Regions from separate parts of the Homo sapiens genome. Here region 2 is linked to region 1. Evidence: promoter capture Hi-C in human tissues and cell types (Jung and others, 2019). All regions are on one chromosome and are shown on one strand. Each heading gives the region's core, a stretch centred on a gene start or on the middle of the fragment in contact. The rest is flanking DNA. Distances are from core to core; before and after follow the strand shown.

What was found. The method cuts DNA at HindIII sites, captures the fragments that hold promoters and counts their contacts. A contact is called where the count stands out against the background at its distance.
Region 2: a contact is called between a fragment that was not itself captured here and the fragment with the promoter of IL1RAPL1 in region 1, in 1 of the 25 tissues and cell types used here (hippocampus).

What each region holds. Positions count from the first base shown.
Region 1 is chrX:28,583,130-28,589,677 of GRCh38, forward strand. It overlaps IL1RAPL1 (interleukin 1 receptor accessory protein like 1), which reads left to right and starts at 4,317. Exons shown (of 11, transcript NM_014271.4): 1 at 4,317-4,918. The HindIII fragment of the contact is 4,831 bases long and covers 2,298-6,548 here.
Region 2 is chrX:29,902,058-29,908,610 of GRCh38, forward strand. All of the region lies in intron 6 of IL1RAPL1 (interleukin 1 receptor accessory protein like 1), which reads left to right. Among named protein-coding and RNA genes, the nearest start is that of MAGEB2, 310 kb to the right of the region's middle. The HindIII fragment of the contact is 8,592 bases long and covers 1-5,713 here.

The DNA.
Region 1 (6,548 bases), core at 3,067-5,566:
TTTGCTTTAGCGCAGCTTTTTGTGGATGGAGGCTTCTTTAAGGAGAGAAAGAGAAAAAGAAGCAACCTCAGGTATAAAATACCTTCTAAGTAACTTAGCATGATAATCGAAACTTTCACAGATGGAAGAGGCTTTGAAGAGACGTATTTTAGCCTTCAAAACAAAAGGGGGGCTGATTTCATAGAGCATTGTGGGGAGCTAGACTTTGAATTCATATCATATGGAAAATGTTTAGTGAACTTTGAAATAAACTGCCAACAGAATTAAATCAAAACCTCTGTAAATTATGTATTTATCTACATAGAATCATCTGCACACAAAAATGAACTGAATTATAACTTCTTAATTTATACATTTCCATAATTAAATTTAAACTGAATAAAATAACCCAATTCAGACATATTTCCTAACCTTAAGGATATTCTAGCCTTAAGGATTTTATTAAAAAGAGAAGCTACTCTGAATATTCAGAGTAATTTTATATAAAAAGTATCTAAAAAGGTAGATTAAATAAAACTCTTGTTCACTTCACTGAGTGGCTGGCAGCTGAGTAGGCTCTCTTTCTCTCTTTAAAGAAGCCTCCATCCACAAAAAGCTGCGCTAAAGCAAACTATTATTATAGCCTTCAATGACGTGAAATGTGAAGAATTAAATTTCAACTACCAATAGTTAAAGACAGAATCAATAAGAACTTGAGTTCATTTCAGGTGTTGATCATTCTCTTTCGTAAATACCAAATTTGATATTTTCTCACGTTTTACTACTAAAACAATGAAAGTGATTTTTGAAACCTTAACTATAGGATAGTAATATTAGGAAATAGCTCACTCAGTTTATTTTGGGGTTTGTAAAGTGGGGTTATATTCTCCATCTCCCAAGTCAGAATATTTCTGTAGCTAACCTTTAATTTCATACTCCCATTAATACCAACCTTGTTTCATTAAAATGAATCTAATGTACAGTATCTTGACATTCTTCTTTATTACTAGAAAATAAAACAGCAGTTTCTTCAACTGAGAAAAGCTAGAAGCATGGAATTGATCTGCAGCCAGTTTTTACTACAAACCCCATAATGCTTTGCATTATAGCCTACAATCCCCATACTGCAGTGCCAAACCTACAGTTAACCATCATATTACTGGAAAGAAAAAGAACAGAATATTTGAGAACTATGTAGCATGCAAGGATTCTACTTGAATAGTAAATTATCAATTTGTTTCCAGTATTTTGTGATTTGCTTGCCTTTTCCTTTAGTAAAAAAGGCATATTTATGGATATGCACTCTATTTCCTCATCCTCAATATAATGTCGCATATTCTCAAATGATATATCAAGGTATATACTTTCCATGTCAAAGACTCTTTTTTAAAAATATCCATCATTGGGTTGTGTAGTTTTCCACCCTCCTTTGGAGGGAGGTCAGCTTTATTCAGATTTTAAAATAAAAATCACAATACATTGTTGAATGCTCTAAACATCTGCAAATGAGAATTCAGTGAAGTAATTAAAATTCTTAATTAGATGCACCTTGCAGCTGCCGTTAGTCTTAATTGGCAATAATGCAGCTACATTTTGTTCTGACACATATCTTCAGAAGAGTTAGAGAACTGAAGGGAGGCAAGAGGAAAATGTTCCCACACAGTTCAAGATAGTTCGCACAAAGAGGATCCCATGGCAACAAACAGCGAGGCCCACAGTTGGCTCTGTAGGATCCAGGAATAGACAATGCTTCACCTCAGATTCAAACAAACACTTCCTTTCCTGGATCTGATCATTTCATTTGAAATGAAAGCACTTTAAATCATCTCTTGAAATAGGATTGAAGTGGTCAAATGTTCACCTGTGTCCTCGAGATGCTTTTCAAAGCTTCTAGATGCTCTCTGCAGCCCATGTCAAGGTAATAATCATAACTCCTTCTCTGTGTACAGTAACAAACTGACTTGCAGAACATTTCAAAGAGAGGACGTGATTTTTGTACCATATGGAGCTGGACAGCACGTTGGCAACTGGTTAATTTCAACCTGTCATTTTATAGACAAGGAAACTGAGGCCAAGAGAAATTAAAGTGATTCCCTTGGGTAATTATGGCTACTTAGGAGTAGAATTTAGACTCAAATCTAGGATTGGAGCCTACGGTCAAGACGTTTACTTTTAAATTTTGCTTGAAGCAATTACATTTACACTTGTTACTTGTGCCCCCCTCCAGGTCTGCTTGAGGTCTATTCACATTCAACTGGGTCAACTAGAGGACTGTGATGGAAGGTATAGAAAATCTAGATCACTCACGTTGAAAGGAGGGGAATATATTTCCTCTTCACTTCTAATCTTCAGTTTAGGCTGAATTATAGCATGTGGGGAAGAAGCAGAGGGAAGAAAAACACTGGCACAGAAGATGTGAACATGGGTGAGTTAGCTTCAAAGAAACCTTGTAAGACTTGCCTACCGACTTTAACCACATTTTCCCTCTGCTTAGGTTGGAAATTTCAGTGTACTGCTCCTTTTTTCGAAATACAGTTTTACCTCCCTGTCTAGTCTCCCTGCCTGCTGTTATTCTCACCTGCGCGCTTAGTTTGTATTCGTTTAGCTCACATTTTACCTAATTTTTAAAGTGTTTTCTTTATCTTGATGCGTGTTTTACTCCCCAAATTAAAACAGTTCTGAAGGGCCAAGGCTACTTTACCTATTTATTCTATTTTTGGTTTATCCGGTTAAGCCTGCCATTACAAAAGCTTGTGGGATACATTACAAAATGGGTTAAGGTTTTTAAGTACATGGGCTGCCGGTGTTGAATGGGAAAGGTTGCAGGGTGGGGAGAGGGAGAGAAGTAACTAGAAAAGCGGCTCGCTGCCTTTTAATCATCCAGCCTACTCAGCTGCCGGAAACTGACACTGTTGCTGCAGTGTAAACATTAACATTTTTTAAGGGTCTTGCTACTCCAAATGTGGTCCACAGCCCAGCAACATTATTATGGGCCACGGGCGAGCTTATTAGAAACGCAGGGTCTCAGGCCTCACTCCAGATGTACCGAATCCGAATCTGCATTTTAACAAGACACCCAGGTGACGGTGTGTACATCAAAGTTTGAGAATCACGGAATCACATGTGAGTGTTATACTATCCCAATGTAAATGGTCAAGGACCTTAAATTGAGCAAATAACCTAATGTATTTACCCGTACCTACTTTGACCCTCTTTCTTCATCACAAATTCATCTCAGAAACCAGCAGCGAACTCTTTTGCAGGGAACTCAATTACGCGGTGGATGGGAGGAGGATCCTCTTCAATACCCTCCCCTCCGCTCCTCCTCCCACTCCCCACCCCCACCCCGCACTCCCAGAGAGCCTTCCACAGGCACCCTTCTCCCAAGCCCCACTCACTTAGGGAAGATTTTGCTCCTCCCCCAAACTGAAAGCGCGGCTGTGAGGAGGGTTACTGCTTGAAGGACTCACAGTTTGCATATCAATACAGACAGAGGCACTTTTGCAAAACTGCCCTTTAGAAACAATTATCATCTTAGCACCTGAGGTTTGTTTGGAGCAGCCCCCGCACCCCTTCTCTCTTGTAATCCATCTTAAAGTGATACGGAGAATGGGGGCGTTGGGGAGACAGTGATGGGGGTGGGAGGGTCGCGCGCAATAATAAATCTGCTTCAAAGAGAAGAGATGAAAAGGAGGTTATCAAGAGTGTGTCGGCTTAGGCATCACTCTCTGTATCTTTCTGCTTCCTAGAGAAATGGAACCATAATTCTAAGGTGGCTAAGGCAAGACTGTATAAGCATCCAAATTTGCCAGTCTGCTTTTGCCTGGAAGAACAGATTTCCGTTATTTGAAGCCTCCCAGGGTCCTTTCCAAAAGATTCCCAGGCTACCTTCCTTCCACTTCGGTCTTCTGAGAACTCAAACTCGCAAAGCGGTGGCTGTCTGTGGATTGGCTAGTACTAAAATATCCATTGGGTGGCAGTAATACTATCCTCTTTATGACTTGCAGCAAACCAGAGAATGCATTCAATCAAATGAACCGATCTTGTAGAAACACTGGAATCATTTATGCGTTGCAGTTTCTCTTTCTTGTTTTCGCTCCTTCTTCCCTGGGATATTTTGAGTGGATTGTGGCTATTAATCAAGATCTCGTGCTATTCGTGTTTTGCTTGTGGTTTTCGCTCAGGATTAGCATCATTCAAGGCAAACGCAAAGCTGCTTTTCCCACCCCCCCCCCCGACTCTTTTTTGAAAAATCATTTTTGGGGGCTGCTGAGGAGAGCTAGGACCCAGGAGACACCTTCCCAAACAGCAGGGGTTGTGTGCTTTCACATAGCAGTACTGTACAAGGAAAACCCCGTCGGATCTGTTATTGCGGGATACTTGTGAAATATACATAGGATTCTTTCTTATGGCTGCATCCCGGATCTGGAAATTTTACTTGGGGACCAGGAGGATTTGAAAGGCTGCATGTACTCAGAAGATTTGCAAGCAACACTCCAATTCTTGTCATAGAGCTCGCAGACTTCTCACTTATCGGCTTTTTTCCTTCCTTATTTTTTAAGAATTATTCTTATTTTCCCCTCTCTTTTTCTGCTCTCTCCTCTCTCAGTCTCTCCTTTTCTATCTGCCTCTTCATTTTTCTCCTAGTCTGTTTTTTTTTTTCCTGCTCTGCACCTGGATTGTATCTTCAGCAAACAATCGGGCACTTTGAGAACTAACTGGAGACAGTCTTGTAGGGAAGATCTGTATGGAATTATCTGCTTTTATGGTGAACTTGGCATTTGTGAATGGGAATCTTGTTCACAATATTAATTGCTAGCAAAAACAAGAAAAAGAACACAGGAGTAAAACGTGGATTTTTCTGAATACGCATTGTGATGACCAGCAATTACCTTACCGACTAATATCCAGAGGAGAATAATTTGGAAGACTGTTGTGGGTAAGGTCATTTTATATATGCAAACCCATCAGTGGCATGAGCAAACTTGGGCATTTGTAATGGGAATGGGTGACTTGAATGATTGCTGCATCGCATTGATGGCTGTGATGTGGCCGTTATTGGCACTGAATGGAATAACTGCAGTTGGGTGTGTTGATATGTGTGTGTGTGTGTGTGTGTGTGTGTGTGTGTGTGTGTGTATGTGTGTGTGCGTGTGTGTGTATATGTATGTGTGCCCGTATTCTGAGTGCAATTGAAAATCAAAGTATCACTCTCTCCCCCAATTATTTTGATATGGAAGAGTGTCTTGAATTAATTCTGGGTAGACACTCTTTGTTTGAATGTAATATTTGTGGCCCCTGCGTTCTGGAAGGGGTAGCAGCAGTAAAAGAAACACTTAGTGAAGAGCCCCATTTAAAATGAAACGAGCTACTCTCTATGCATTAAAAGAAATATGTTTTCAACTCAGTGCAGCATTCTGCTGCATTTCACAGCCGCAATGGGACCAGGGACATCCCACTTGTCAAGTTCTTAAACTTTAAGGTGATAATCATCGTTAATTGTTCTCTAGGTTGTGGTTACTGGAGATTATTAAGCGCCCTGGGCTACTTTTTTATCTACTGGATTATCACTCAGAGTGAAAAAAGGAAAAGAAAAGAAAAAGCTAAAAATGATGGCTAACATAGAGAAGAATAAGGCAACATTATCTTAAATATCACCACAGTGCTTTCTTTCTCAAGTTCAATTGCCCAATAATATAATTATTTACCCAATATCCTAAATAGCTGAAGCTGAGACCCACGTGCAGGGGAGTCGAAGGTCTGAAAGCAGAGACCGTCCTTTTATTGCAATGCAGCCAGCTTGGGAAATGCAGGCAATTAATTACATACTTCCCCTAACCTTAAGTTGAAGATGTGTCCTGTCTGCTACATCTATTTTACCCTTTCGGTAAAAAGTTAGAGACTAGAACACTAAGGATGTTTAAGCATATTCTGCCTGGGAAATGGGATAAAGAAATCAATATTGATGACGTGGTTCAGTGCACTGTACTGCAATGCTAAAGTTCCATATTCAGTGCCTGTGATGAGAGAGTGGAGCATTTACATATGTTATAAATCTCACCTGGTAGATTGATCCAAAGGGGAGGGGAGAAGATATGTGGATATGTAGGAAGATGGATGGAAGTCGTGCATAATCGGTGATTATGTAACTTCATTACATCAGCGAGTTTCAGTCAACGATAGTGAGATGAGATGATTGTATAGAGAGAGGCTCCATCACCCTGTTAACTTTTGAAGGCTTGTAACAGCTAACAGAGGAGGAGGGCAGAGAGAGATTAGCTCCAAGGGTCCTGTAAACCTTGATCTCTATGGCAAATTTTGCATGAGTTTTCTCATAGTGAGTTTCGGAGGGACATCAGATCATATAAGCTTTAGGGCTGGACAGGACCAATTTTAGCCACACCCGTGGAGAGTCAAAATGAGTCTGCGATGTTTCAGAAGTGCCCCATTGAGTAACTGGGACTGATGATTCCAGCCAAGGTCATAGTTCTTTACCCTAGGATTGAAATATATGACCCCAACTGAATGGAAAGTTAAATTCATTGAAATGATGACTGTGAACGGAATGA
Region 2 (6,553 bases), core at 168-2,667, 1.3 Mb after region 1:
CTGTACTTTCTGCCCTTCATCATCACCAGGAGTTTCTGAGTAGCCTTTTAGAGCAAATCAATTTCCTGGCAGGTGAGTAATTTCTACTGTATAGTCATCATTTTCCCGCATCATTTATCTAAGACCCATCTTCTCAACACTCAGGTGCAACATCACACCTTCCCAGGGGTGAGGTCATCAAGGGCATCTGGGTGTTAAATGTTTGATGTTAACAAGAGGGACACCCCCTCTTCTGGCTGGTGTCCACCGATTGTTCTAGACACCATGAACTTTTGTTTCATGCAGGTAGAAAACAGCCATCAAGAGCTAAAATTTGAGCCCTTACAAGAATCTTTTTACTACCCAGCACAATGTGGTAATAATATTCCCACTTCTCAGGCCCTTTTCCTTCAAGTGAATAAGATTTCCTCTCTATTCTAGAGGAGCCATGCTACTGCCTCTCTTCATTTGATTACTGTGGGAAATCCCCCAGCAGCTTATTCCAAGTTCACTGCGCAGCCCTCTGATTCCTGAAAGGCATAATTTGGCCTAACTTGATATATATACTATATATCATCACTTACAGTAATGTTTGTCCCATAATAGTAATACTACTACTAATAATAATAATAATTGCTAACAGTGAGTGAGCACTCACCATGGGTACTATAAATTTATATTAACTTAATTAACTCCAAGTTATTTGTTGTTACTTAAATTCTCTTATAATCTATTGATCAAACAATTGAGTTGCTTTGTTCCTAAAAGCTACAAAAATATATAGTAATGTAGTATAAAATCTATTTTCATAAAGAAATCTGACACTACAGCTGAATTATGGTTAGCAAATTTAAAATTCATACCTTGTTTTCCTCTTGTGATTTTGTCTCCTTGAAATTTGAGCAGATGTTGTTATATCTTTCAGCAATCACATCCTCAACTATGAGCTTAATATAACGTACCCCTTTCATTACTTTTCCTTTCTTTTAGAATTCTTAGATAAATCTCTGATTTCCAAAGAACTATCTGTGCTTTGATATTGGCAACTATTATCTGCTGTAGGTCCTAGTACTTATTTAGGTAAAAGATCTTAATGAAGTTCCAACGAACTTCATTTGTCTCCGTGTGTGTGTGTGTGTGTGTGTGTGAGAGAGAGAGAGAGAGAGAGACAAAGAAATTCTTCTCTTTTTTCATTTCTGAATAAAGCTTTCTAGAAGAGCCATTCAGTGTAACTAATGACAAAAGATAAATATGTTTTGTAAACCACTTTGCTTTTATCTTAAATGGGGAGTCTTCGGCAAAACATTTATCTTTACCATGACCGTAGAGTAATTTTAATATACATGATTAATGGTGCAAATGAAATTAAAATCCCCCTACTATTCAACATCTTAGTTAAGAACAAAATGCTCACTGTTTCCTAATTGCAAAGAGTAAAATGTCTGGATGTTGATGCTTTTTAATTAGAGGAGAATTTTCTTTTTAATTAAAAAAAGAGAGCTTTTTTATTTTTCAGTAAGTTAGAGAGTGTCCTCTAGTGGAGAGAGACTCTGATCTCATAGTTTTAGAAATGGCTATATGATACCCAGTTAGAACTGTGCTCCACTTAGCTGATTGGAATCTACTGGTTGAAGGGAAAAAGTATTGTTTTTCCTCTAAGACCCCTCAAATCATGGCCTAGTTAAAAGGCTGCAGTGTGACAAGCATTGTTCTCATTTTAGATAGGAATGATTTTTTATGATCAATTTTAGCATGCTTCCTTCTGAACCTGTTGAGGTTGAGCTGACTGTGCACCTTTCTGCCAAAAAGGAGGCAGAAGCATTTAGTGCAATTTACTGTGGCTTTTACAGGTATCAACTGGAGGCAGCAAGAATACCATTGTCTTCAGGACTGCAGACCTGGCTGACTGATATATTTGATGTGTGCAGATCCCTAGGCCATAGCTTAAATTTGTTTCTTTTATTATTTGAAGGAAAACAAAGAAACAAAATTGAGAGACAAATTAAATAAAGGTCTCTCTTCTCCTTAACTTGTCGAATTCTAATGCTAATTTCCTGTATTTCTGGTTAAATGTGCTAAGCAGTCTTAGCTCTATCACTTGTGTATCAGAGATGAGAGGTGGAGGAGTTTTTTCGATATCTAAATGGAAGAGGGTACGGAAGAGCTGTGGTGGTTGGCTCTCTGAATCACATACTAGAATTGCCTTATCAGAAATTGCTTATTACAGCAAATTAGAGACTGAAAGAAAAGAACGATAGTTGCTCTTGATAACAAGCTAAATAGCTTGGACTTAAATAAAGATAAAAATTTTATTGCTGATTCTTTTTTTAATTTTAATTTTTTAAGTTCTGGGATACATGTGCAGAATGTGCAGGTTTGTTACATAGGTATACATGTGCCATGGTGGTTTGCTGCACCCATCAACCCGTCATCTAGGTTTTAAGCCCCGCATGCATTAGGTATTTATCCTAATGCTCTCCCTCCCTTTGCCCCCAACCCCGACAGGCCCCAGTGTGTGATGTTCCCCTCCCTATTCCATGTGTTCTCATTTTTCAGCTCACACTTATCAGTGAGAACATGCAGTGTTTGGTTTTCTGTTCCTGTGTTAGTTTGCTGAGGATGATGGCTTCCAGCTTCATCCATGTCCCTGCAAAGGACATGATCTCATTCCTTTTTTATGGCTGCATAGTATTCCATGGTGTATCTGTGCCACATTTTCTTTTTCCAGTCTATCATTGATGGGCATTTGGGTTGCTTCCAAGTCTTTGCTATTGTAAATAGTGCTGCAATACACATACGTGTGCATGCATCTTTATAGTAGAATGATTTATAATCCTTTGGGTGTATACCCAGTAATGGGATTGCTGGGTCAAGCGGTATTTCTGGTTCTAGATCCTTGAGGAATCGCCACACTGTCTTCCACAATGGTTGAACTAATTTACACTCCCACCAACAGAGTGAAAGCATTCCTATTTCTCCACAGCCTAGCCAGCATCTATTGTTTCCTGACTACTTAATAATCGCCATTCTGAATGGTGTGAGATGGTATCTCATTGTGGTTTTGATTTGCATTTCTCTAATGATCAGTGATAATGAGCTTTTTTCATATGTTTGTTGACTGCATAAATGTCTTCTTTTGAGAAGTGTCTGTTCATATCCTTTGCCCACTTTTTGATGGGGTTTTTTTTTTCTTGTAAATTTGTTTAAGTTCCTTGTAGATTCTGGATATTAGACCTTTGTCAGATGGGTAGATTGAACTTTCTCCCATTCTGTAGGTTGCCTGTTCACTCTAATACTAGTTTCTTTTGTTGTGCAGAAGCTCTTTAGTTTAATTAGATCCCATTTGTCAATTTTGGCTTTTTTTGCAATTGCTTTGGTGTTTTAGTCATGAAGTCTTTGCCCATGCCTATGTCCTGAATGGTATTGCCTAGGTTTTCTTTTAGGGTTTTTATGGTTTTAGGTCTAACATTTAAGTCTTTCTTTAATCCGTCTTGAGTTGATTTTTGTATAAAGGTGTAAGGAAGGGGTCCAGATTCAGTTTTCTGCATATGGCTAGCCAGTTTTCCTAGCACCATTTATTGAACAGGGAATCCTTTCCCCATTGCTTGTTGCTGATTCTTATATTTGAAAAAAAGGGGGATAAGGAGAGTGTTCATAAAATCCTTCAGTAATCCAACAAATGTCAGAGCCATAATGAACAATAAGGCAAATATATTCCCTTTTATAGATAATTTTCAGAAACATGTATAGTCGTGACTCCCACACAGATGGAAGAATGAATACATGTTAAAAAATTTTTTGCTGATGTGATATGAGGGGACCAAGCAGATGTTATGACCAGTTCAAAGGAAATATCAAAGCAGCAGATTTACACAGATTAAAGAAATGTTGAGATGAATTGTAAATGGAGACAAAATTGTTTTTTTCCCCAGGTTATAGGGGGGATAGGAGAGGTGAGTCAATTAAATCACTATCAGACAGGAGAGAATTTGTACCCCTATCAGTGTCCTACATTTTACAGAGTCAAAATATAGTTCAAAGACAGTAAAAAAGCCTTTGGGAGGCCGAGGCAGGTGGATCACGAGGTCAGGAGATCGAGACCATCCTGGCTAACACGGTGAAACCCCATCTCTACTAAAATACAAACAATCAGCCGGGCGTCGTGGCGGGCTCCTGTAGTCCCAGCTACTCGGGAGGCTGAGACAGGAGAATGGCGTGAACCCGGGAGGCGGAGCTTGCAGTGAGCCCAGATCGCGCCACTGCACTCCAGCCTGGGTGATAGAGCGAGACTCTGTCTCAAAAAAACAAACAAACAACAAAAAAAAAAACATAAAAAAGCAGGAATCCAATAATCTGGAAGGGTGTGCCATAGACCAATGAGTAGTTTTCCAATGAAAGATATTTCTTTCTACATAACTTTGTAAATATATATATATATATATATATATATATATATATATATATATATATATATATATATATATATTTCTGTAGCCTGGTTGGGTTGCCAGTGACCCAGTTTTATATCCTACTTTCTTGTCTACACCAGCTACTTCTCTACCTACAACTGCCATTATTGTGAACCCTCTTTCTCTTTCCTCTTCTCCAGCCTCCCTGTCCTTGCTTCCTGCTTACAGGACCTGCCCTAATATTTTTCAATTTTGTTGCTTTTCTGAGCCCCAGTTCCACTTTAAACAAATTCCAAGGTAAAAACAAATTGTTCTGGACAGTTAACTGTAATCACTTGCATGAAAAAATCACCTGAGGGTGCTTGTTAAAAATTCAAATCCCTGGAACTCTCCAGACTTGACTTGCTGAATCTAAATCTGGTGGGGGGTGGAGGTAAATTTTTTGACAATAAATTTGGAACTCACTGACTTAAGTAAAATAAGAAAAAAATGTAACATCTAAGCCATATGACTCTAAGCTAAATGACATTGTAGAATATATGGGAGTATAAAATAAAAACTGATATGAAAGTTAGTGGAAATATGCAAGAAAAAGCAAAGTTAATGGTAGCATTAGTAATTGCTAGTAATAACTTTCCCTAAAGTTCCTATCACAATCTATCTAGCACTAATTATTTTCAAGTTGAATATCTGGAATGTCAATCTATTAATTTTTTAATGTCCATTCTAGATGCTATGCTAAGTGAGTTTTAAAATTATTTTTCCTTTTTAATTGAAAGCATACCCAGACACACATTAAATAAACACAAAAAATAAAAATTCATAATCATTCTGTTTTTTCTTTGTATCACTTTCCATTCTACTGAATTTTACTAATTATAAATTTAAATCTTTTAATCTTGCACTTTTTTGTTATTTCTAGACTTCAATTTTAAGAAATTATTTTTCCTCCACATATTTATAAAATATATACTTTCTCCTATATAGTATATTTATTTCATAGTAATATTTAACTCTAATAAATCCCACATTTATTTTTCTATATTATATGAAACTAATTTTTGTTTTTAGAAAATAATGCAATTCTGATAACTCATTGCCTGGAGTTAAATCTGGTACCATATCTGAGCACTACAATTGATTTCAAAGAGTTGTACCACTGCCTGCGGGATAAACATGATGTTGTTTTTTTATAATTGTTTTAAAATACATTTTGCTCTTTGTTTAGACCAACAACGTAATGTCCAGATCTATCATCATTACACTTCTTTAGGATAGTTGTTGACAATATCTACCTACTTAAATTTCTAAATAAATATAGATTTTGTTGAGTTCTACATCTTATTGGACTTTTATTAGCATTAGCATTACATCTAAAATGTAACTTGGGAATGGATTTGTTTAATTGTTTATTGCTAGTATAAATAGGATCTCTTCTATTTTCTAATTAGTAACTGTAGAAATCATGGATGATAATGATTTCTAAATATCATAGACCATAACTAACTACAGAGTTTCTTCTTAAGGCTGGCAAAACTATGATAAAAATCAGTGTCTCTTAGAGAATAAGATTAAAAAAATTTAAATCACATTAACTATAGCTAAACTGTAAGTACATTAAATTTATTGCTACAAATCATGTAGTTTAAAAAAAACCCCTCAAATTTGCCAGATTTACAAACTTACCCCACTATGGAAAACTGGCTTTCTTCTGAATTGCCTTCATCAATTATTTATTGCTGCAGGGTTGCAATAGGCTGAGGTAGATGCTCTTATGGAGTATCTAATATTTCATATTAGGCAGATAGTGTTTCATTTTTAAATTTCAAGCCTTGTGCCTGTAATCACAGCTACTCAGGAGAGGGGAAGACCGCTTGAGCCCAGGAGTTCAAGACCAGGCTGGGTAACATAGCAAGACCCCATTTCAAAAATATATATATATATATATATAAGCAAACTTTTTTAATAATTTTAGAATCTATGCTCTTAAGACCCACATTCTCTCTTGGTTTTATTTTGCATATTCTCTTTTGAGTTTCTTAAGGGTATTTTTGTCTGGACCTAAAGTTCTATCCAAATATATTGAAAAAAATGGGTAGCCCCTCCTTTGAGAATTACCACATAGACTCCATTTGATCTATAGGATAGTGAGTCTTATTTTTACG